7 separate regions of the Homo sapiens genome follow, and regions 1, 2, 4, 5, 6 and 7 are each linked to region 3. The links are contacts of gene promoters, found by promoter capture Hi-C in blood cells and fetal thymus (Javierre and others, 2016). All regions are on one chromosome and are shown on one strand. The core of a region is centred on a gene start or on the middle of the fragment in contact, and the rest is flanking DNA. Distances in the headings are between cores, read along the strand shown.

What was found. Contacts are between HindIII fragments. The CHiCAGO score rates a contact against its expected background, and 5 or more counts as called.
Region 1: a contact is called between a fragment that was not itself captured here and the fragment with the promoter of GBP5 in region 3, in 1 of 17 cell types (non-activated CD4 T cells). The highest score is 5.6, in non-activated CD4 T cells.
Region 2: a fragment that was not itself captured here is called in contact with the fragment with the promoter of GBP5 in region 3 in 1 of 17 cell types (total CD8 T cells); the score reaches 5.1 in total CD8 T cells.
Region 4: a contact is called between a fragment that was not itself captured here and the fragment with the promoter of GBP5 in region 3, in 1 of 17 cell types (naive CD4 T cells). The highest score is 5.4, in naive CD4 T cells.
Region 5: a fragment that was not itself captured here is called in contact with the fragment with the promoter of GBP5 in region 3 in 1 of 17 cell types (non-activated CD4 T cells); the score reaches 5.2 in non-activated CD4 T cells.
Region 6: a contact is called between a fragment that was not itself captured here and the fragment with the promoter of GBP5 in region 3, in 3 of 17 cell types (total CD8 T cells, total CD4 T cells and naive CD8 T cells). The highest score is 7.9, in total CD8 T cells.
Region 7: a contact is called between a fragment that was not itself captured here and the fragment with the promoter of GBP5 in region 3, in 4 of 17 cell types (total CD8 T cells, naive CD8 T cells, non-activated CD4 T cells and 1 more). The highest score is 10.2, in total CD8 T cells.

What each region holds. Positions count from the first base shown.
Region 1 is chr1:89,660,224-89,663,511 of GRCh38, forward strand. The region is part of intron 1 of LRRC8C (leucine rich repeat containing 8 VRAC subunit C); the gene reads left to right. It also overlaps the pseudogene LOC100505788. Among named protein-coding and RNA genes, the nearest start is that of LRRC8C, 29 kb to the left of the region's middle. The HindIII fragment of the contact is 780 bases long and covers 1,192-1,971 here.
Region 2 is chr1:89,741,309-89,745,047 of GRCh38, forward strand. LOC107985743 (a long non-coding RNA gene) reads left to right here and starts at 2,505. Exons shown (of 3, transcript XR_002958333.2): 1 at 2,505-2,688; 2 at 3,690-3,739. The HindIII fragment of the contact is 1,582 bases long and covers 856-2,437 here.
Region 3 is chr1:89,270,969-89,274,575 of GRCh38, forward strand. It overlaps GBP5 (guanylate binding protein 5), which reads right to left and starts at 1,892. Exons shown (of 12, transcript NM_052942.5): 1 at 1,484-1,892. It also overlaps the pseudogene LOC100421401. The HindIII fragment of the contact is 6,725 bases long and covers 1-3,607 here.
Region 4 is chr1:88,945,921-88,949,551 of GRCh38, forward strand. KYAT3 (kynurenine aminotransferase 3) reads right to left here. Exons shown (of 14, transcript NM_001008661.3): 11 at 3,171-3,357. Among named protein-coding and RNA genes, the nearest start is that of KYAT3, 45 kb to the right of the region's middle. The HindIII fragment of the contact is 3,334 bases long and covers 6-3,339 here.
Region 5 is chr1:89,627,368-89,631,092 of GRCh38, forward strand. The region is part of intron 2 of LRRC8C-DT (LRRC8C divergent transcript); the gene reads right to left. It also overlaps a transcript of LRRC8C not described here. Among named protein-coding and RNA genes, the nearest start is that of LRRC8C-DT, 3.7 kb to the right of the region's middle. The HindIII fragment of the contact is 4,677 bases long and covers 1-3,725 here.
Region 6 is chr1:89,716,719-89,720,498 of GRCh38, forward strand. LRRC8C (leucine rich repeat containing 8 VRAC subunit C) reads left to right here. Exons shown (of 3, transcript NM_032270.5): 3 at 1-2,815. Among named protein-coding and RNA genes, the nearest start is that of LRRC8C, 85 kb to the left of the region's middle. The HindIII fragment of the contact is 3,140 bases long and covers 501-3,640 here.
Region 7 is chr1:89,758,035-89,761,329 of GRCh38, forward strand. It overlaps LOC107985743 (a long non-coding RNA gene), which reads left to right. Exons shown (of 3, transcript XR_002958333.2): 3 at 823-904. Among named protein-coding and RNA genes, the nearest start is that of LRRC8D, 61 kb to the right of the region's middle. The HindIII fragment of the contact is 1,120 bases long and covers 691-1,810 here.

The sequences.
Region 1 (3,288 bases), core at 332-2,831, 390 kb after region 3:
CCTGCCTTTGATAGGCCCAGATAAAGCTCTGGTTTTTCCCTAAGACCTCACTTAGTGCGTAGCTGTACTTTTTATCACAAACAGAAGAAACAGATGTTTTGGGGAGAATAGGTCTCAACCTCACCTACATGTTGGAATCACTTGAGGACCTCTAAAACAAAACAAAACAAAAACCTCATGCCTGGGCCCCACCCCAGCGGTTCTGATTTAACTGCACCCAGGCATCAGTGTTTTTAAAACTCTCCAGATGATTCCAATGTGCAGCCAAGGTTGAGAGCCACTCTTCCTCCCTATCCTAGGTTTTATTTCCCCCCAGATGTTCCCTAATAAATTTCAGGAGACTAGCTCAGCCAAATTCTGTCAACAAGTTTTCCAATCAGAAGTTATTAATTTAATACCAGTCCATGTGTTTTCCCTTTGAAAACATGTGCACTTTCTGCATTTCAGTAAGTAATGTTGGCTCCTGGAGAAATACTCATCTTAAGCTCCTAGTGGAGCAAAAGAACCTTTCTCATCCAGCACCCTGCCTCCAGACAGCAAGCTCACCATCAAAACATGATTCACTGTCCTATTTTTCACATCTCCTTGGCATGACCAACCCTCAGATTTCGTCCTGTAACCATTTATTTGGTCATTTAACAATGGGTTGTTTCTTCCTAAATCTCTCATGCAGCAGTTTAAAGCCTGTAATGTGCAAAGTTGAAACATTTTGTATTTGGCACTGAAGTCTATCCATGGACATCCAGGCTCTGGACTCCTCTGGTAGCCTTTTGTATTCCTTTGCTTGTCTCAATTTACATAGTGTTTCTTTTTGTTTTGTTTTGTTTTCCAAGTTTCAGTTATTTACTAATCAGTGCAATCGCCAATAGATTACATCAACATGATTTCATGCATTTAGAGGAGAAGTATTTCCTGGTTAAGCGGAAAATTGTGTGGATGGCTTCTGGAAGACCTTCATTCTAAAGCAGCTTTATAGTGAAACATTTGTTAGAAATCTGGACCTTCTTTCTTCAGTTTGCTGTAATCCACAATTACTGAGTAGAACTTGTATTGATCATTGGGAGCCAGTTTGTTCCAGGGCTCTGGATTATTCTTTCTGTCCCAACTAACATCTGGATTGAACAATGCCAGACACGAGATACAGTGCTGCTCCAGTACCTCCAGCTCCAATGAATACAAAGAGGGAGATCAAGCTTAGATGCTTCTTGGACTGAGTGATGATGTGGTGGAGCATGTTTGCTGAAGAGGCCTCCGATTGGAAAGGAGAGAACCAGCCTAGCCACCAGGCTCTGGCCTAAGTAGTATCTCCATAGTGTTTCTTGATAGGTTCTGTTTCTACCACTTTACTCTTCTAATTAACAGATATCTGGTGAATGACAAATATGGGCCAGACACTCTTCTGGGCATTAGGGACAAAACATTTTGCAAATTGGGCAAAAATTTCTGCCCTCCTGGGACTTGCATTCAAGTGGGAGGAGAGAGAAAAGGAAATGCATAATTAGCTAAAATATATATAGTATGTTCAAAGGTGTTAAGTGCTATGGAGAAAAATAAGGCAGGGCAGGAGGAAAGGGAGTGCTATGGCTGAGATATGGTGTGATATTAAATTGGCTTTGCAGTATTATCTAAACAAGAGGAGGGTGAAGGCTTGGACCAGAGGAGTAGTGATAGAAATGGTGAAAAGTGGTTGCAATCTGGGTAAATTTCAGCAAGGCCTAAAGAAGGTGAAGGATTGAGCCCTGCAGATACCAGGAAGATGAGAATTCCAGACAGAGCTGTTGCAAATGCAAAAGCAGGAGTGAACCTGGGGTGCCAAGAAACCACTCTAACAGGGGCATCCGATCTTTTGGCCTCCCTGGGACACACTTGAAGAAGAAGAATTGTCTTGGGCCACACATAAAATACATTAATGATAGCTGATGAGCTAAAAGAAAAAAAATCACAAAATCTCATAATGTTTTAGGAAAGGAAAGCTTGCAAATTTCTGTTGGGTCATATTCAAAGCCATCCTGGGCCACAAGTGGTCTGCAGGCCACAGATTGGACAAGCTTGTGCTAGAAGGCCCAGTGTGGCTGGAGCAAAGCGAGTGTGCAGGAGAGGGCTATGAGACTGGTGTGGGGTGGGAGTGAGATTGCAGAGGGCCTTTTAGGACTTTTGTAAAGATTTTCGCTTTTTCACAGAGTGAGATGGAGAATTATTAGAGGATTTTGAATGGAGAAGAAACCCAGGATCATTCTGGTTGCTCACTTGAGATGACTCTCTAGGGGTCATTGGTAGAAGTGGAGAGACTAATCAGGAAGATATTGCAATAATCTTGCAATAATCTAATTGAGAGATGATGGTGGCTTGGATCGGGGTAGCAGCTAAGATGGGTCAGAAATCGTTGGAATCTGAATATATTTTTGTAGGTAAAACTTTTTGCCCTTATGTCTATGTAATATTTTTTGATATTCCTCTTAAAATAGAGCCCTAAACTCCAGTAAGGGACCTGAATAATGCTAGTTATAGCAAAAGGTTAACTGTCTGACTCTTGAATACCACAAATTTAGTATTGTGTTTTCAGCCCCCGCCATGGGGTAGATATTATTTTCCTATGTTTCTTTTTTTTAATTATTATACTTTAAGTTCTGGGATACGTGTGCAGAACCTGCAGGTTTGTTACATAGGTATACACGTGCCATGGTGCTTTGCTGTGCCCATCAACCCGTCGTCTACATTGGGTATTTCTCCTAATGCTATCCCTTCCCCAGCCTCCCATCCCCTGACAGGTCCCAGTGTGTGATGTTCCCCTCCCTGTGTCCATGTGTTCTCATTGTTCAACTCCCACTTATGAGTGAGAACATGCAGTGTTTGGTTTTCTGTTCTTGTGTTAGTTTGCTGAGAATTATGGTTTCTAGCTTCATCCATGTCCCTGCAAAGGACATGAACTCAGCCTTTTTTATGGCTACATAGTATTCCATGGTGTATATGTGCCACATTTTCTTTATCCAGTCTATCATTGATGGGCATTTGGGTTGGTTCTAAGTCTTTGCTATTGTGAAGAGTGCTGCAATAAACACACATGTGGCCGGACGCGGTGGCTCATGCCTGTAATCCCAGCACTTTGGGAGGCAGAGGCGGGCGGATCATGAGGTCAGGAGATCGAGACCATCCTGGCTAACACAGTGAAACCCCACCTCTACTAAAAATACAAAAAATTAGCCGGGCTTGGTGGCCAGCACCTGTAGTCCTAGCTACTCGGGAGGCTGAGGCAGGAGAATGGTGTGAACCCGGGAGGCAGAGCTTGCA
Region 2 (3,739 bases), core at 397-2,896, 470 kb after region 3:
AGACTGCCCCCACTTCATTTGCCAATTGCAAGTAGTGGGTCTCCAGGTGACCCATAACTTCCGGCTTGCCTACAGATCAGGGGCTCTCACAATCCCCTAAGCTTTCATAATTTTCTGCAGTGGCTCACAGAACTCAGAAACATTCTACCATTACTAGTTTATTACAAAGGAGAGTATAAGGAATACAAATGAGCACACAGACAATGCAGTACCTGGAGGGAGGTCCAAAAGGGTACCAAGTACAGGAGCTTCTGTCCCCATGGAGTTGGGGTGCACCACCCTCCCAACACGTGAATGTGTCCACCAACCCAGGAGCTCTCTGAACCCCGTTGTTTAGGGTTTTTATGGGGGGTTCATTGTGTAGATATGGTTGGTTCAATCACTGGCTGTTAGTGATTGACTCACTCTCCAGCCCCTCTCCCCTCCCAGGAAGTTGAGGTGGGGAATGGGGAAGGGAGATATGGCTGAAAGTTCTAACCCTGTCATCAAGGCTTGGTCTTTCAGGTGACCAGCCCTCATCCTGAAGCTGGCTAGGGACCCCAGGTACTAGTCATCTCATTAGCATAAAAAAGACAGTCATCACTCTGGAGATTCCAAGGTTCTTAAAAGCTCTTGTGCCAGGGAACAGAGAATAAGACCAAATATAACAAATGGTGCTCCTCTTACTCCTATCATTCAGGAAATGATGAGGGTTTTAAGACCCATGTGTCAGGAACTGGGGTAAAAGACCAAATATATATTTTTTATTATGTCAGACAGCTATAGGCAGATGATTCAAGGGGCACAGTTATACCTCTAATGCCTTTGTGCAAATTATAAAAAGGTGGCTCCTTCAGGCCCATGGATTGGGAAAAAAGCTTTTATTCCTCTGGGCTGAAACATCTCTGAGACTGGGGAGAAAGGCAGGGCTATAATTCAGCCCACTGTCTTCCCTCCCCCTCGGCTGGACACTTTAGTGCAGTACAGAGACGGCACAGCTGTACCTGGGGCTATGGGAGAAAGTGGTACTGGGGGCCAGGGATATGTGGAAGACCAAGTGCCTCACCCTTACTATGCTCACCCCAAGGATGAGACTCTTTTTCTTTCCAACTGCAGTTTAATTGTTGTAGGGTCTCCTCAGGATGATGCTCACCTCTTGATCCTTCTCCACCGTGCCTTGCCCTGTTCCAGGCCTGTGGTATCAATACTTAAACTGAGCTGACCTAGGAAGAATGCCTTTCTTGGGTGTAAAGATTGAGCAAGCAATGGACAGAGCCATTTGAGGAGGGGCAATGTGTTGTCATGGAAAGGCCACACATCCTGGAATCAACTGACCTGGTATGGTGGCTTGATGGGTGTCAACTTGATGAGGCTGAACTGCATTTCCCAGAATTCCCTTTGCTGCGTGTTTCCCATTAGTGTGGACCACAGGAGATATTGTGTGAAAGTTGGAGGGAAGTAGTGAAGCCACAACCATTAAGTAGCTCACACATGTCTATGTTGGCATGAATCTGCTGGCTCATTTGCTGGGTCCTCCAAACACATGGATGTTTTTGCCTTCCCAGAGCTCTCCACTGTGAGAGCACTTGCTGTTGTGCACCGGCCCCACCTCCTAATACTCCACCTTGGGATTAGGATTTCAATACATGAATTTGGGAGAGACATAAACATTCAGTCCATCGCAAATCTCTTGCACTCTTAGCAGACAGCTAAATAAACCAACCCTGTCCCTGTCCATTGATCTTCTTCTCCCAGTTAAAATACCAGCATTTTCTCAGGATATTTGAAAGCTAGTGCTTTTACTCAAAGAAAGAGTATGGGTAGAACCTGTAGGCACCTTACTAGGCTAGTTGGGGAGGTATTTTGGGGTGGTTCTCTCCCAATCCTACCATGAGCAGCATCATATACTTTATTTGGATTGATAATAAAGGTGATTATTTGTGACCTTATTAACAGGGAATATAAATGCCTCAGAGAAGGCTTCCACTGTTTAAAACTATTTTCCAATTTTATGAGTTTTCTGGAATATGAGGTTATTCAGAGAAGGAGCCCTCTTGCAACTCCCTGGCATCTTACCCTCAGTTCCATCTGCATTTTCCACTCTCAACATCCACGCATAAACAGCCAGCATCCAGCCACTCTCTCCCCTTTTATCCTGCTGTGTTGTCACCCTGTCCTCCCTCTGTCTTGTCAAAAATGAGCAAAGGCATATTAGCCACCCTGGGACGGCTTGACACGGAAAAGGTGTCCTTTCAAAATCTCAGAATGTCACGATGAACTAGTTGAGAAAACAGTATGATGGACTGTACTGGCTTCTCCAAAGTCAGCCCCTGTGGAAAAATATTGAACATTTGACTCATTCACTGACATTTGGGACAGTTAAATGGGAGAGGAAAAAAAAGAAAGGAATGAATAAATTGCTTCTTTTTCCTCCATAGGTATCTGATTCAGGCGCCAAAGCTTATGAATCTTGGAATATAGTCAGCTACAATCATGGGTTATTCTCCAAATGAAGAGTCCAAACACTGGCAAAATAAAAAGCACATTTGGTCCATCACATTCCTAACTATAATGGATGCTGAGAAATGGATGCACTGTAACAACCCGCAAGTTTCCTGGTACTGCTGCTGTCATTGCAAAACCATTGCAAAGTATCCATCTCTTGCCTCTGCCAGAAAAAGCCAGCCGTTAACAGAAACTAAACCCAAGGTCACTTACTTTCACATAAAGAGAATATTTTGGCAGCTGCCAAAATTCATTTTTCTAATGTGCACTTACCCAATAACTTAAGCTTGGCATCCTGGGCGGAATCCAACTTGGGTAATTCCATTTTCACAACCGAATTCCCCCAAGGAGTTTGAGCTGAACATCACATTATTCTTCACTTCTCCAGCTATCCTCTCAGTAATCAAACGAGTGCTTTTCATCCCTGAAGCGTCATGGAAATATAGGGGTGGGGGTTCAAAAAAGGGTTTCTTCTTAAGAATATAGTGATGAGAGGTTCCGTTATACGAACTTAGTAAAGTCCTTTGGAAGTCAAGACTGGTTTCATTTTTTTAATTATTATTTATTTATTTATTTTTTGAGATACAGTCTCACTCTGTCACCCAGGCTAGAGTTCAGCGGCGCAATCTTGGCTCACTGCAACCTCTGCTTCCTGGGTTAAAGTGATTCTCCTGCCTCAGCCTCCTGAGTAGCTGAGATTACAGGTGTGTGCCACCACACCTGGCTAATTTTTTGTATTTTAGTAGAGATGGGGTTTCACCACGATGGCCAGGCTGGTCTCAAACTCCTGGCCTCAAGTGATCCACCTGCCTCAGCCTTCCAAAATGCTGGGATTACAGGCATGAGTCACTGCGCCCAGCCTGGTTTCATTTATTTAACCAACAGGTATTGAGGTTTGTGCCAAGTGCTGGTCTCAATATTGCAGGTGCAGCAGGACATAAGAAAAGGTTTCTGCCCTCAAGAAGTAAATATTAGAATAAGTATATGAAATAGGGCTGGAGAGAGACACAGGAATCAGACCATTAAGGCCATGATATGGAGTTTGGATATTATTATAAGTACAGTTGGAGAGTATTAGTGGAGTGATGATCAGATTCAGGGTTTTTAATAAGATCACTGTGAAGAGGAAGAGCCATTGTACAGGATACCTGTGGAACCAGGGTCTTAACCTTCTGTTGTTTTCCATTGGAATCTAACCATTCTAGGAGTCAACACAGCTATGGCCAGATTTTCCTCCTTGCCATTCTTCAAACAG
Region 3 (3,607 bases), core at 642-3,141:
CTGAGTGTTCAGACTCTCTTATGAATGACAATAGCATTGTATATCTACATTAATAATAGTATTTGACATGTTGTCCCCAATGTCATCTGGATAGCATCTTTAATGCTTTTAGTAAAGCCAAATTTCTAAAACATTATTGCAGATTTAATGTGTTCAAGCCACAAACATAACTGTTGCTCTGTTATTCATAACTTAGTGTTCTGGGATGCATTCTCCCTAACTGCTTGAGCCCTATAACCTTTGCAAATAAAAACAATGCAAGAATGGTTCAAAATACACACACAAAATGCACATTTTGCCCTTGCCTTAAATTAGACTTGATTTCCAACCCCAGCCCTACAACTGGCTATCTGTATCTCTCTGGCATTTCACTCAATTCTTTCAGCTTGTTTTCTAAAAAAGCAAAAGTAAATAAACAACTATTTATTAACATCAGTATAACTGCTGGCTTATGAAAGAGAGTGAGCGAGCTGCAGGAGATTTTAAAAAGTGCAAAGAAGGAAAATGCCCAAAAAAAAATACTAAGAGAAAATGCTCAGAAGTGGTAGTGGAAGGATTTCTGAAAGAAAACATCTGTTTTCAGCCATATGATTCTAGTTTGGGTTTTGCGCCTGCATTTGTATATGTAGTTGTTATTGCTTGCTTTTGCTTATTTTGCATAGTTTCTGGTTTGAATTTCAAGGAAAAGGAAAAGGCTCTTATTAAGGATATAAATGGAAATCAAACTAGTACAAAATGCTTGAAGTATGTGTCATGGTAAGAAATTCAAAGGAGAGAATTTCAACGAGTGAACAGTTGCCAGACAGTATTGAGGGATCCAGTTGGGCAACTGTTAAATTAGGTGATTCATAATAGTAAAGGCAATAGAGTAGTAGAAGCAGAACCCAACACAAAAGGGGTTAGTTAAGTGAGTAGATGCCAAGAAACCAACATGAATTAAGTCAGGGCTATTGCTAAAGGAAGAAATCTACTTTCAAACAAAGTACAAGACTATGACTAAAAATACATCACTGTTTTCATGAAACTTCTCTCTGGGCAACATTTTTTTCTTGTCCTTAATGTTTGCAAGCTACTTACATTGCATCATATTCATTGTTCTTTCTCATGAAAATAATAGCTATCATAGTTTTTGAAACTTTCATGCTGAAGTTCGAGTCAGTTTAATCAGATTTTATGAAGGACGAAGGTAACTTAAGTGGAAATTATGATCCTGAATAAGTCATAAAATTGCAAAGGAAGAAAAATAATTTGAAGGCATTTCAAACTCTTAGTTTAGTCACCACACACATTGATGTCTAATTCAGCAAGAGGCAGACACAGCTGGTACTTGATGAATTCTGCTGCCTGTCTGATAAGAATACAATTTATTCTTTACTGAGGTCTGATATACCACATCAGGATAAGCTGCATCCTATCCTTTGTAGAATGTTTCTAAAACCAAATGAATCTTGCAAATCTCTTCCACCTCTTGCCCCAGTCTTACCGTGTCCGGAATTGGTGGGTTCTTGGTCTCACTGACTTCAAGAATGAAGCCGCGGACCCTAGCGTTGAGTGTCACGGTTCTTAAAGGTGGCGTGTCAGGAGTTTGCTCCTTCTGATGTTCGGATGTGTTTGGAGTTTCTTCCTTCTGGTGGGTTCGTGGTCTGGCTGGCTCAGGAGTGAAGCTGCAGACCTTCGCGGTGAGTGTTACAGCTCTTAAGGCTGCGCGTCTGGAGTTGTTTGTTCCTCCTGGTGGGTTCGTGGTCTCGCTGGCTTCAGGAGTGAAGCTGCAGACATTCCCAGTGAGTGTTACAGCTCATAAAGGCAGTGTGGACCCAAAGAGTGAGCAGCAGCAAGATTTATTGCAAAGAGTGAAAGAACAAAGGTTCCACAGCCTGGAGGGTGACCTCAGTGGGTTGCCACTGCTGGCTACTTCTCTTATCTGGCCCCACCCACATCCTGCTGATGGGTCCATTTTACAGAGAGCCGATTGGTCCATTTTACAGAGAGCTGATTGGTCTGTTTTGACAGGGTGCTGATTGGTGTGTTTACAATCCCTGAGCTGGACACAAAAGTTCTTCATGTCCCCACTAGATTAGCTAGATACAGAGTGTGGATTGGCCTATTTACAAACCTTGAGCTAGATACAGAGTGCTGATTGGTGCATTTACAAACCTTGAGGTAGATACAGAGTGCTGATTGGTGCATTTACAATCCCTTAGCTAGACATAAAGATTCTCCAAGTCCCCACCAGATTAAATAGATACAGAGTGCTGATTGGTGTATTTACAATCCCTTAGCTAGACATAAAGATTCTCCAAGTTCCCACTAGACTCAAGAGCCCAGCTGGCTTCACCCAGTGGATCTTGCACCGGGCGGCAGGTGGAGCTGCCTGCCAGTCCTGCTCCATGCACTGGCACTCCTCGGTCCTTGGGCCATGGATGGGACAGGGTGCTGTGGAGCAGGGGTCAGCACAGGTTGGGGAGGCTCAGGCAGCACAGGAACCCATGGCGGGGTGAGGTGGGGAGCGGGAGAGGGGAGGAGGCTCAGGCATGGCAGGCTGCAGGTCCCCAGCCCTGCCCCACCGGGAGGCAGCTAAGGCCCTGCAAGAAGTGGAGCACAGCAGCTGCTGGCCCAGGTGCTAAGCCCCTCACTGCCTGGGGCCGCTCCGAGTGCAGGTCCCTCAGAGCCCAAGCCCACCCAGAACTCGCGCTGGCCCTCAAGCACCGGGCGCAGCCCCAGTTCCCACCCCTGCCTCTCCCTCCACACCTCCCAGCAAGCTGAGGGAGCCAGCTCCGGCCTCGGCCAGCCCAGGAAGGGGCTCCCACAGTGCAGCGGAGGGCTGAAGGGCTCCTCAAGTGCCGCCAGAGTGGGTGCCCAGGCAGAGGAGGCACCGAGAGCGAGGGAGGGCTGCAAGGGCTGCCAGCACGCCGTCACCTCTCATTACCTTGATTATAAAATCGGGAGAAGAGGTATTTTAGAGCTAGTAAGAAAACTGCTTCCATGAGGGACTGGGCACGGTGGCTCACGCCTGTAATCCCAGCATGTTGGGTGGCCGAGGCGGGTGGATGACGAGGTCAGGAGATCTAGACCATCCTGGCTAACACGATGAAACCCCGTCTCTACTAAAAATATACAAAAAATTACCTGGGCATGGTGGCGGGCGCCTGTGGTCCCAGCTACTCGGGAGGCTGAGGCAGGAGAATGGCTTGAACCTGGGAGGCGGAGCTTGCAGTGAGCCGAGACTGCACCACTGCACTTCAGCCTGGGTGACAGAGCGAGACTCTGTCTCAAAAAAAAAAAAAAAAAGAAAAGAAAAGAAAAAAGAAAGCTGCTTCGATGAGAACTTGCTGAGTTCGAACTCTCGTCTTTTACTTTCACTGTGGTGATTTCTCATTTATTTTCTTCACTCAGTCCTGGGGTTTTTGTTCTTCCCACCCCATTTTCCCTGCTCGAAAAAGGAGACAATTTGAATACAAAATATGGAATAACAGAAAGGGGGATTTTTGAAAGTTCTCTGTAGGAAATAGAAACCAAAAAGGAAATTCAGTGACTAAGCCAGATGACAAAGGGAATTGCCCAACTGTTACCTAGTGTAGATAGGCTGGATGTATTTGACCTGACTTCT
Region 4 (3,631 bases), core at 423-2,922, 330 kb before region 3:
AGAAAAGCTTTCCTAACCAAAATCCTTTTTGCTCCTATTATCACCACACTAGTTCAAGATCTAAGACCTAAATTAGTATTGCATATAGAATGGATTGACTGAGGAAAGAAATGGAAACTAATTAGGAGCTTAATGTAATATTCTGAGTTTTATCACTGTTCTTTTGATAGTTAATGTCACAATGTGATAAATCGAGTTTCATATCTGGAAAAGTTTGGTTCCAGGAAAGAATTGTTCTTATCTAAAAAGCTAAGTTTCTTTTTATTCAAAAACTACGCAACTAATTTCATTTTTCTGTTTGCCTTTACTGTCAGGAAGTTTAGTCTCAAGTTAATGCTAATTACAATACTATGTGAACCTAGGTGACTGAAATATTTGCTTTCTTTCCCTCCTATGTGTAACTGATTTTTTTTTTTTTTAATTTAAGAGACAGGATCTCACTATGTTGCCCAGGCTGGTCTTGAACTCCCGGGCTCAAGCAATCCTCCCGCCTTGGCCTCCCAAAGTGCTGGGATTACAGGCAGGAGTCACTGTACTGGCCATGTATCATTGATTTTTGATTTAGATACAATCATTTCTATTTATATATTACTGCATAGAAAACTTTTAATATGAGAAGGCTCACATTCCTTTTGGAAGCATATAAAGTACAAATGTTGTTCTTTTAAAAAAATAATAATTCATATGGAAATCTTGGGGATTTATGATTCAAAGGCAAAAATATAAGTGATGACAACTGTGCTAATTTTTTTTATCATTTCATAAAATGAACTGCACATTTAGACTCAATATAGAAAAAGCACTTCCCAAATCTCAGAGTCTAGAACACCTTAAGAGGTTCTATATAAGCATAGAGCTTGGGAGCCTGCTAAATACAGCTCTATGGCAATAGCACTGCAGGAATCTTTGCTTGTCAAAGCCTCTTCTCTCACAACAAATGAAGAAATAAGCTAATGTGAAAGGAAGGAGAGTGTTTCAGTTTGAGCCAAACCTCATGTAATGAATTCTTATGACTGTATGTTGTCTTGGCATCCATTGTGAATATAAGTTGGTCTTTCTTATACCAGAAGCAGGGCTTAGTCACCCTTGACACAATTTCCACTTCTCTTCCTCCTCACAGTTCCTCAATGTAGTTGATTCAGATATCTGCCTGAGACAACCACCTCCTGGCGAGCACCTCACTGTGGTACAGCTAGATACAACCTACTTGACTCGCCCACTGACCCCCACCCTCCTCATGGACTGCCTAGATATGCCACAGTGACCACCTCTCAGTCACAGCCTGACACCATGAGCTTGTGCCTGCTCGCTCTAAACCCATCTGTTAGAAGTCTCTGCAGGAAACCTGCTTGGGTAACACCTTGGGCCCCCAAAAAGGCTTTGGCCCACAGATCCCACTCTCTCTCTGTTCCCCACCTGCTGGTTGAGTGTGTATATCCTGGACCACTCCTCACTTCCCATTGGTCCCGGGAGGCCTGCTGCCTCTTCTGTGTCCCAACTGACCAACACACCGGAACCTAACTCTCCTCCTCCTAGAGAGTGGCTATCTCTGTGGAAATAAACTGGATACAGGTCAGATGAGAGCCACAAGGATGTCTGCCAGTATAAACCAGTTTCCAGGGATGTCTGGTCATGGGTCAGACACTTAACATCAGGCCATCTGCCAGGATAAACAAGTAGCCCATGAAAGGCACACTGCAAACATCCAGGACCTCCCCTGGAGCCCCATCAGGGAACAGCTAGAGTTTACAGCCACTTTCCAGAGAGACAGACCTGAAGACCAAATTATAGGAAAATCATAACACCTTACTTTTCTGAAATTTGCTAAGATGATAATGAACTATTACAAGTAAAAATTGCTAGCATCAAATGCTTATAGTAAGAAAGAACTCAGCCAGTGGCTCATGCCTGTAATCCCAGCACTTTGGGAGGCTGAGGCAGGTGGATCACTCATTAAGCTCAGGAATTCATGACCAGCCTGGGAAATGTGGCAAAACCTCGTCTCTAAAAAAAATTTAAAAATTAGCTAGGTGTGGTGGTGCATGCCTGTGGTCCCAGCTACTCAGGAGACTCAGGTGGCAGGATGGCTTGAGCCCAGGAGGCAGAGGTTGCAGTGAGCTGAGATCACGCCACTGCACTCCAGCCTGGGTGACAGGGCCAGACCCTGCCTCAAACAAAACAAAACAAAACAAAACAAAACAAAACAAAACAAAACAAAACAAACTCCTATGTGAAGGATGTAAAGTTAAAAAATATGATCAATGTTTTGCTATAAAATTGAAAATTTCCTTTACTCTTTCCAGCTTTATACAATTTAGTATAAATAAAACACTTCAGTTTTTCAAGTTCATTGGCATATAACTTCATTGTAATAAAATTTTAAAACATTTAAAACTATATTTAGAATGGCTGTAATTTCTGTCATGATAAATTAGGCTTCAAGGTTTACTATTACTAATTTTTTTAAAAGAAAAGTTATATATGACACATTATCATGCTTCTAACTTTAGATTTGTATGGCATGTCAGAATTACATATAACAGCTTTAGGTAATATAAAAAACAATGCTTTTTGGAAACAGAACTATTTAGAATCTAGCTGTGTGACTTCAGGGAAGCTATTTAAAACTTTCTAAATCTTTTTACCTGCAAAAATGGAGCTAATGTTTTCTTCAAAAGGGTGTTTTGAGTACGTGGCACAAAGTAGACCCTCAATAAGTGTTATTCTCCCATTTATTTTATTTCAGTACATTCTAAAATGGCAAATATTCCCTGATAGCTTCAAAATTTCTAGATATTTTTCTAATGAAATAGTACATTTTGTTAAGTAAAAAGGAAACTACAATTTTACTCAAATGAACACTGAGTATATAATATTATTTCACACACTTGTGTTTTAAAATTACACACCAGAAGAGAGTGATAGCAAATCCTATGTTTAATAGACTAACTAGAACAACACTGACTCCATAACCATTTAACAATGGTCACATTTAAGGTAAAAGGCCTAAAAGTAAAGATAATTATAGAAAATGTAGACATTGCAAAAATCCATCCTTCTCCACAGATAAAATGCTGCTGTGGCTTTGACACCAATCTTTTCTCCATAATTCTGATATAATTTCACACATAAGTTTCCGTATAGTTGAAATAATAAAAGCCTTTACAAACCTAGCAAAGACACATCAGCGATGATGAAGTATCCTCCATCAGGAACTATGGGTTTTAGGCCAACACTTTCAAGTAAACGTACCATCCGATCTCTTTTTACTTCTAACTCTTTTGGCAAAGAATTAAAGTAACATTCTGGGTCATCCATGCGCTTGATGTCAATCCAGAAAGCTTGAGCCAAGGCTTCCTGTTTGTTAAGAATCAAAAAATATGAAAAGGCATATGGCAATGTTATTTATTGCTTAGTTTATTGGTATAATAAATAGAGATGATCTGAGTAAAATTATTGGCAAAGAAGTCACTCAGGAAATAACAGTTGAATTCCTGTGAACCTATATTAAACTCTATAGGTTAATGGAGGAATCAGTTATACCTAAATGATTAAATCTCATGTGAAGAACTGAGAAGGAGTCCTGAAAATTCAAATTGAAAAAGAGCTGTTACTTAAAGGTGGCTTGCTT
Region 5 (3,725 bases), core at 443-2,942, 360 kb after region 3:
GAGACTCTCTGTCTGGTTATAGTTCATGTTGCCTTAACTCGGAGCTACGGACACATTATGATCTTTGATTAAGAAGTTTGCTTTCAGTTGTAAAGTGCTTTTCAATTAAAGAGTAAGCTGTAAAACCAGCTCATGAAGGCACATATGGGATATGAGTACACTAGTGGAAAAAGCACAAATCAATGCAATTTTGAAATACTGAAAAAGTACATTATTAACCTTACTGAAATAACTGATGGGTTCCATTTAAAAATAAATACTCCTTTCCTATAGGATTAAGTAGTGAGTAAGCATGAGAACCCTGAAATTGACTTGCCTAGGCCCAAATCCCAACTCTTCTACTCACTGATTATGTGACCTTCAGCTAGCTACTGGATTACAATGGGCCTCTGTTTTCTCATCTGTCAATATGAGAAAATAATACTGCCTGTGTAATGGATAGCTATGGTGAATAAATGAGACAATGCATATAAAGCTAGCACACATTGAGCATCCCAAATCTGAGGTGCTCCAAATTTTCTGAACACTGACATAAGGCTTATAGGAAATTCTCATTGGAGCATTTTAGACTTTTGAATTTGGTATGCTCAACTGGTAAGTATAGTGCAAATATTCAAAATCTGAAATCCAGAACACTTCTGGTCCCAAGGAATTTGGGTAACAGATATTCAACCTGCATTTAGCACATAATGTGTACCTCATAAGTGTTTATTCTTTACTATTTCCAAAGAAAATTTCACAAGTTAGTGGGATCAAACAATTCTGTCTTGGGGTGGTAAAATAAATAAGGTTTGTTTTAGAAGAATCTGATTCAAAGTTTTATAGAATCCTATTTTTAGGTCCTTGGTACTGTAGGGAGCAAAAAGGGGTGATTCCTTTCCTTCCTATCATAACAGTTGACACCTCTCTAACAAAGGCAAATTAACAAGAGAAAAGCATAACAAATTTATTTGATCGTAGTTTTGTGTGACACAGGAGCCTTCAGAATGAAGACCCCAAGATATAGGGGCAACTATTCCTTTATTATTATTTTTATTTTTGATTTAGGGTCTCACTCTGTAGATCAGGCTGGAGTGCAATGTCCTGATCATAGCTCACTGTAACCTGTAACTTCTGGGCCCAAGTGATGTTGCACCTCGGCCTCCCAGAATGCTGGGGTTATAGGTATGAGCCACCTTCTCTTGGCCCATTTTTATGCTTGGGTTCAATGAAGTATGGAAAGCTGTGTAGAAATATGATTGGACAAAAGGGGTATGATCCAGCAAGGGGAATGGGGAAATCCAGCAAGGCCTGTCTGTTCAGATTTCTTCTTGGCCTTTCGATATAACATTCCTTCCTCCCAGGTATGGGGTAGGACCCCCTGGAATGAGGGTCTTAATTTCTTTATGGCCAGCAGTTAGCAAGAAAGAGAAAGGGAAGGGAGGGAGAAGATTAGAGTAAAATGTTTAGGCTCTAAGGCTGGTTTTGGGGAAAAGGTTCTGGTTTATATGACCCACCTCAGGGAAGAAGGATTCCAGTTTCTATGGCTTGCTTCAAGGGAGAATAAGAGAGTGAGAGACAGGAGGGCAGGAGAAAGCTAGACAGAGACTTTGCTTCTGAGGCTGCTTTTTATTCCTTCATTTTGGGGTATCATTTTTAGCCCCAATAGACCACCATCTCCTCTGGTACAAATTCAACTGCCATTTTGGGATCAAGTCCACATTTGACATTACCTCTCAGGCAACTTTCTGGGCAAAAGAATTTTCTAGGGAAGGTTTTATTTTTCCCTGTCTAGCATTTTTAATGGCACAGAGTCAAGGATTTCAAAACTGTTGCTAAAGGTAGCATTTATCTTGCAGGTATTAATTCAGAAAGTGCTAATGGTTGCAACAGTCTAAACAACTGAAACTTAAAACAACAACGTTTTCTTTTAGCTCAGCCTCTTCCCACAAAGCTCAGAAATGGTATGGGGAGCAGATGTGCACAGGGTGGATAGAGAATGCAGCGTAAAATCCTGCTGGTGGTTTTGGTTTAGAATGTAGATTTTACTTGCACTCTTACCAGGTAGGATCAACTGAAATCAAATGCAAAACAAAACAAGAATAGCAGGTTGATCTGAAAGAACAATCCCAGCATTGACATCATCAAGGTTTAAGCAGATACATATACATAATACATAAATTTAGTATGAATTATTTATGAGCTAAAGGGTTCAGGTTTTAGAGCCTGTAGTATAATAAGAGTTATACTGAAAGTCAGAACCAATACAAGAAACTGAAACACTTAAAAACTCATTATTTCAATATTTAATATCAGGTCCTGTGCAGGGTATTGATAATGGACATAAAAGTGAATCAAGATACAGCCCTGCCCTGGAGAGGCTCCCAGACTCTGTAGTGAAGAGGCATGTAAAGAGACAAATGAGAGCATGCCATGGTAAGTGCTGTGGTCACACAAGGAAGGAAGAGTTATACTTGCCTAGAACCTGTGGAGGCTTCATAGAGAAGGTGACTTTTAAATTATGCCTTCAGGCCAGGCGTGGTGGCTCATGCCTATAATCCCAGCACTTTGGGAGGCCAAGGCGGGTGGATCACCTGAGGTCAGGAGTTTGAGACCAGCCTGGCCAACATGGTGAAAACCCATCTCTACTAAAAAAAATAAATAAATACAAAAATTAGCTGGGCGTGGTGGCGGGCACCTGTAATCCCAGCTAGTCAGGAGGATGAGGCAAGGAGAATTGCTTGAACCTGGAAGGCGGAAGTTGCAGTCAGCGAGATCACACAGCATGAGACTCTGTCTCAGAAAAAATTAATTAATTACGCCTTCAAGGAACAACTCAGCCCAGCCTGAGTTTTCTTACAGCTAACAACAAAACAACAATGTGACACAATTGCTGTTACCATACAACCCACTAGAGGGGTTACAGATATTCTAAGTCTCACCACAACCCTAAAAGGTAGTTATATTCCAATAGACTGATGAGGAAACTGAAGTTCATAGCTAGAGATACAAGATTTAAGCCCAGACCTATTTCATTCCAAATCCCTTACCATAGCCCTGCATAGCCCAGAAATATCTACTTCTGCTTCTATCACCAACCTGTACATGGTTAACTTGTAATTACACAGTCTTTAGTGTGAGAACTACTAACTCTGGAAGTCCAATTAGAATGTCAAAATTTAGCCTAAAGAATTGGGTATAAAGTGAAAGGTCAAGACAGAGTCTGTGCACCCAGTTCATCTAGCTCACAGTACCCTCTCCTTCCTGGAGATGTGCTGAACTTCAAGCACATTTGCTTCAAAATGGTTTATTCTGGTTTGTGTGTATGCATGATTCCCATGAACTATGAACACCCTGAAGTCGGAGAATAAGCCTTGTACTTCTTTAAGACCCTCACTCAAGTTGACTGATTGCTAATTCTACCAGTCCTTTACAGAGAGCTTGCTAAGTGTGGATGTTAATGTGAATTAGGTGGACTGAGGTAAGATCACTAGATTTAAGGTTTACATGCTACAAAATAAGAAGAGGTGAACTAACCAGTGTAGCATAGTTTTTAGACTAGTGGCTTTCAAGCATTAATGTGCATGTGAATCACCTGCCTACACGTGAAGAACTACCCAGTTGATCCAATTAGAAGGCAGACACAAGAGTAGCCAAAAGTATTGCAATAAAGCAACTTGGGGTGGACTCAACTTGCAGGGGATTCAGATCCCAGGTTTCCAAACCTTTTTGCTATTCCTGGTTCT
Region 6 (3,780 bases), core at 821-3,320, 450 kb after region 3:
ACTTAACAATGAAAGAAAGTAGAAAGATGCTTTGGGTTTTCAAAATGTTGTTTTTTAAAATTGTTCTTTGGGTGAATTTACTCAGTGCTGCTTTGAGTTGTATACAGAAACAAATGTTGGGAATTGCTCCTCAGAAATGTGTTCCTAAGTTGTGTTTTCAACTTTACATCATGAGGTGAAGCATTAGGGAAAGAGATTCTTTCGATTTGTTTAATAATCTAATTATACAGACCAAAGTGCTTTACGTTTCTGCTCTATGTTAATGTTTTAGAATGGTGATTTTGCTGATTAATTTAGACCTGGAATTGAAATAATGTGCTCAGAATAATAACATGGTTATAGTTCTTGTATGATAAAGTATTCAATTTCAGAATAGTGTTGGAATCCTGAGTTTGAATAATGTGTTGTATTTAGAAACATAGCCCTATCTGTTTTAAACAAATAATTTGTTGGCCGATTGTCCATGGTTGAGCATGACAAAAATACCTCGTCGAAAGGCAAGCTTAGGTAACTGCTGGCAAAACACTGGGTGCACTATTTTTCTGGATAAAATTTATAGTTATTTTCTATATTACCCTTCAAAAGGGATCTCTTCAGGTTAAAAATCACGCTTATGCTGAAGTCTTTATCTGGTGTTAACTAAAAATCTCATATGGGTTCATAACCGAGGTCACTAATAATTCATTTTTATCACTTGTAAAAATTTGCTCAAAATTCCAAAAAAATATTGATTTGTTTTTTAGTGATTTTGCAGGCTGACCCCCAACCTAAGTTTTGATAACATCTGGTAAGTCAGTATAGTTCTGTGACTTCATGTTTTAACTAAGAAGGAAAATTCATAGATATTCCTATTAGATTTTATAAACCTTCAAAAGTCTGAAACTTAATTTTGAGTCTAAATTTTCTGACACTGGCCCCTTTTAATATTGTAAGTTTTTGTTCACTTTCTTAAGTAAAAAAAACATTTAATTACTAGTTAGCCCTTAACTGGGAAACTCAGGTAATGAACTGCTGACTTTTCTAAAGTTCTTTAACTGATCAATTCTGTATAGAGGGATATTTATCTAACCACTTTCCGTATTTTACAAGTGCTCTTTCTAAAAAGGAATAACTATTATAGCTCTATTTCCCCAATCTCTATAGGACTCATGAGAGATTGCTTGTGTAAATATAAAAGCACCATATGTGTTCTTAACTCCTATGGCTGCTTGAAGCTCATGATGAAAAAGTCTTTTTGTCAGTTTTAATTGTTAAGTACAGAACAAACAATTGTTTGGTGATGGCCTGGTTGAAAGAGAGCATATAAATATATCCCAGTGGAACTCACCAAAGAAGACCACACCTCAGAAATTATTGCATTTTCTCATTATGTGTTGGGTTTGATTTGCTTTTGTTTTTAATGCAGCTCTTTTAATATAAAGATTCTTGATACAGTGAAATCTCTTATTTCAAGTGTAAGTTATTCTTCACCCACCCCTTCCCCTGCCATTGTATTTCCCATCTGTTTCAAGGAGTTTCAACAATTTACATTGCATCGTATGCAGTAGGTACTGCTTTTTCAGAAAGACCTGGAAAACATACCTGCTATGAATATTTTGTTCAGATGTAGCCATTTACCTGGCTCTCAAGTTGTCTTTGTGGAGAGGGTCTTAGACAAAAATCTTCCTTGTATTTACTTGGGTTAAGTGAAGTCCAAATTCTTACAGTATGCTATTTCAGGATTTCTGATATTAAAAAAGAAAAAACAAAATCTTTATATCTCTTATTAACACTTCCCCCAAGAAGGGTTGTGCTGTTATTTATTTTCTATTATAAGAAAAGTTCATTCTTTAAGTAGTTTCTTTTACCTCTAATCTAATTTCATACCAAATACCTGATCAATAGAAATGATATATTTAAGCAGCAAAGATTCCTAATCCATCATTATGAAAAGTGTCAGCATACTTAGTAGTGAACAGATAAAGTCAATTTGAATATAATTCCACTTTGTTTTTAGAGACTAAATTAAGATTCAATTAACATTATCCTATGAATTCTGAATGTGATAATGTGATTCAAACAGTCAAATTTTATTAAGCTCTTAGTAACTCAGGATAGCATTCCATACTAACCTCAAGTTAGCAAAACAAATTAGTTAAACAGCTTGGTTCTTAGCAGACTGCTTAAAAGATCAAGAAAATTTTCTCATCTTTTCTTTCTACTTAGAAACATTGCAAGAAACCTTGGACAGTCTTCACCAGACCTGCCATGATTTTATAAGATTTAGGCCTCAGTGACATGCTCCTGAAAGTTTCCTGCCAGCCATCCAAACTAAGCATCCACTCATTCCATCTTCCCAAAGTCACTCACCGATAAAGGTAGCATCCTTAAGTTCATTTTTGAAAGGTGGAGGAGGATCTCCCCCTGCCCAAAGGAATTTTTTTATCAGAATACCTTGAAAGGGGGGTATATAAATTTGGAAAACTTAATTTCTTGGCTGTGTTTGATAACAGTTCCTATGCATGGTTTTTAATGTGAGGTAAATTTGTTTCTTTCTTCAGAATACCTCTCTCCACCCCCCACCTTATTCTTCCTCTTTAATGAATATTTTTATTGGAGCTCAAACTCCATGACTTACGTGCTCACTAAGTTTTCTTTTTTCCCCTTGTTTACTCTGTCTGTATGTATGTCAAAAGCTGGCAAAACCTCTAAAACTGTCAAGAAAATGCTTGAAAGTTGATTTGTCATAGTGCAAATTCATGATAAAATGTCTTAATGTTATTTGGATATGTAGTACATAGAAACAGAAAAATAAAGTCATTTTTATAACTTAAAATAGATATTTGTCCCTCTCTTACTCATTTTTAGAAATCATGTTTATCGTTTGCATTTCTTAAACTATTACTAAAGCTCCCTTTTCTCTGCAGGAAATAAGCTGCATGCATTCTTTCACTTTGTGTTGAGCTAGTTTCTGTAATTGTGACTAATTATTTCCTTCCTTAATTCACTCTACTGTATCTACCTAAGGTGCCCCTGGAGTTTCATTTGGGTAATTAGTGCCTTCATATGTAATCTGGAGTGCAATTTCTGTACGTTTGCCAGATGAGATTGTACAATGGCTGTCCAGCTCAGCTTTCAGTAAATAGTCTTATAGTAATGACTGTGGTTACTTAAAGGAATCAGCATGATCCTGCACAGCTAGGAGGCCTCCTCTAATTAACCACATTCACTCCAGGCTTAGGGAAGCCCTCTACAAGGAAACTTTATGACCACTTACGCATAAGAAATGATGGGTAATTTTCAAAGTTAAATAGTCCCTTTACACATTTTTATTAATAATAGTGTTTATTTTACTGATCATCAGCCCTCTGGAGAAGGATTGTTGAGATAAGGAAGGGTGGTGAGTGTGATGGGAGAGGCTGTGTAAGTGTGAGTAGCACAAATTAGAAGAGATCATGTGAGAGCTCTGGAGAAATTCTGGAAAGGAGCTAGGGAATGCAATAGATTAGAGACATCTGGCGATTTCAGTGCAATCTGCACGTACAGAAAAAACTGCCCACTGCCATTCTCCACTGTCCCATCTTCTAGTCCTTTCACTTACACAGAGTATTGAGATAAACTCTGAAAAATTTTAAATTGGTTATTATTGGCTAGCAACATAAGCTTTTCGTTTGGGTGAAGAAGTAAATGCATAAAAAGGAAGTTATTAAAGTTCATTTGAGACTCAGTGGAGTATTTACACGGTCAGAGCACAAGGCCCACATATTTCTGAATGTAAGTTTGAATGTCATCCTAAATTTG
Region 7 (3,295 bases), core at 1-2,500, 490 kb after region 3:
TGATTACCACGAACTGAGAAATCTCTGCAATTAGCAGGAGTGTAACTGGAAAACCAAGGGCTCCTCTGTGCCTTACCAAAAGACATTCCCTCTTCCTCTGGCAAGTTGAAGAAGATAATTTGGCCAGCCTAGGAGGAAGTGATTGATTGAGACAGAAATGGTGGAGAGAAGGATGACTGTGATTTTTACTTTGGTGATGGGCATGAACATAACAAAGAACAGATGGTGGATGCCTTAGTCCCACTGGTGTTATCAATTCCGTAGCCCTGAGCCCTGCCCTGCTACAGGCTTATGTAATTCTCAAGCATGTGCTCTCATGGCCCAAGGGGAGACTATGCAGCACAGACCCTCCAGCTGCGAGGTTAACTCATCAATGCTCCACCCTTGTCATCTTTGGGTTCCAGCACTCAGGCCCTGGATATGCCTCTCACCAGAAGTGAACACTTGGTGGGGGCTGCAATAGACCCAATGAACACATCAGCTGCAGTTTGCATCTAAAAGAAATGATTCCAATGTAACATGACAGGGGACATATGAGACGATGAGTAAACAATAGAGAATAAAAATAATGGAGGAAGAGTTGAGGAAAAGGTCTCCTTTGGGCTAGGATAAAGTCATTTCCTTAGCCAGATCTAAGGGTTTAACTCTTAATTTGGAGGCACCAAGAAGTTACAACACAGTGCTACTTGAAGCTTATTTTATAGATAACATACTTAACTGTTAACAGATTCAGTTAGCTGTTTACAGTTTAGTTAACTGGATATAGTTCTCAACCCACATGGGGTCAGTCATTTTCAACAAATCTTTTTATTTTCTCTATAGAATTCAGAGTTCAAGAGCTCCTTAAAGGATACACAAAACTGTCATCAGTAGTTAAGATTTCGGTGGTCTGGGGGTGAATTCCAGGTAAGTAGTCCCTCTTATCAAATGTCTCTTTAACAATGCTTGCAGCTATCTTGATGTGACAACCATCACAAAAGCAAATATTAATCAGATCACTAAAGGGACACAAATAACCGACACTAGCCAAGAAAGAATTCAAATATATTTTTGAACTAGTTTGGGGCCAACTTTTGTGTGAGAAGAGGAATTGAGTTCACTTCATCTGGTGTTAACTGAAATAAGAGTTAATGTGCCAAATATCTTCATCAGTGACTAAAACTAAGACCACAGATTAGAGTGCCAAAGGGTGTAACTAGAAGGAAGTGTCAGCATTGCAGAAAAGAATGCAAAACCAGGAGGATCTCATGTGAAGGGCTGGCTGCCTAATGGATAAGAAATATGGCCAGAACACAAGGAAGGAGACTGGCGAGTAATAAAGCTGAATTTAAAGGCTCTCAACAAAGCCACCTTCTCTTGCAGGATTACCACTCCTCCTGCTGCTCTCAGGACAATTCCTGAGCGCGCTGGTGAGAGGCTATGTTCAATCATCCCCAGGGTCCTTCAGCTCTTCCTTCCCTGTTGAAGTAGAAATGAAGATCAATTTTACTTAAGTAAACATTTGGTTCTCACAGCCATAAGAGAGAAAGTTCGGTTCTCAGAGAAGTACGTACAACTTACTTCTCTTAAGACAGCTCCGTTTTCCTAAAGACAGTTTATGAACCCCCAAGAACCTACAATGTTCCCTGGAGCCAGTTTAAAGTGTTGAGTCCTCTCTGGTTCTAGGATTCTAGAAGGATCAAAGTTTATTAACAAATCATATAGCAACTACGACTGCCCAACTTTTCCACACAGTTTCTTCTCCGTAACCAGATCATGTTAATGTAATTACTATCAAAATTTAAATAAGTTTTTTTCATAGACATAGACAAGCTTACTCTAAAATTTATATGGAAAGGGAAAGACCCAAGAATTGCAAAAAACAAAAAAAAAAAAAAAAAAAAAAAAACTTTAAAAACAAGAATAAAGTGGGAAGAATCACGCTTCCAAATGTTAAGGCCCTATATATAAGTGCTGTATCCAAACAGTATGGTATTGGTAGAGGGAACAGGCAAAGCAATCAATCAGTGGAACAGAATAGAGAACACAGATATAGACCCACTCAAAATTCCCATTAATTTTAGACAAAGAAGTAAAAGCAATGCAATAGAGGAGAAACAGCCTTTTCAATAAATGGTGCTGGAGCAATTGGACCTAAACCAATACCAAAATTAACTCAAAATGGATAATTGACTAAAACATAAACATACAACTATATAAGAGAAAAATCTTTGGGGTGTAGGACTAAGCAAAGTTCTTAGACTTGACACCAAAAGCATGAGCCATAAGAAGAAAAATTTATAAATTGGATCTCATCAAAATTAAAAACTTCTGTGAAAGACCTTGGACAAAGGATCAAAAGACAAATTACAGACAGGAAGAAAATATTTAGAAATTACATCTCTAAGAAAGGTCTTGAGTCTAAAATATATAAATAACTCTCAAAATTAAGAAAAGGACTGCTTTTGTTTGAATGTTTGTGTCTCTCCAAAACTCATATGTTGAGATCTAAACCCCAAGGTGATGGTATTAAGAGGTGGGACCTTTGGGAGGTGATTAGGTCATGAAATGGAGGGCTCATGAGTGAGAACAGTGCCCTTATAAAGGAGCCCAAGGGAGCTTATCTTCCCTTTTCACTTAGTGAGGACGCAGGGGAAAAGAACTGTTCTAGGAAACAGGAAGTGAGCACTCACCAGAAACCAAATCCAATCTTGGACTTCCAGCCTCCAGAACTGTGAGAATTAAATTGCTGTTGTTTATAAGTCATCCAGTTTACAGTGTTTTGTTATAGCAGCCTGAGCAAGCCAGACAAGGGCCCAAGGCCTCCATCAGCACCACGTTTTATGATATGTGTTCTGTGAACCATCTGACTTCGGATCTTAGAGGAGGAGGTAGCAGAGGGATTGGTAAAATGCCGATTCCCATGGACTGCTCCAGAAATTCTGATTCCATAGATTTGGGCAGGACCTGAGAAATCTGCATTTAAAACAAACTCCTTGAGAGACTTTTTTTATTATTATTAAAGTTTGAGAACTCCCACCATGGCCCAATCTACCAAATTATAAAGGAAGAGCATGCTGGGCATGGTGGCTCATGCCTGTAATCCCAGCACTTTAGGAGGCTGAGGCGGGTAGATCACTTGAGATCAGGAGTTCGAGACCAGCCTGGCCAACATCGTGAAACCCCATCTCTACTAATAATACAAAAATTAGCTGGGTGTGGTGGTACGCGCCTATAATCCCAGCTGCTTGGGAAGCTGAGGCAGGAGAATTGCTTGAACCCAGGAGGCAGAGCTTGCAGTGAGCTGAGATCGCAC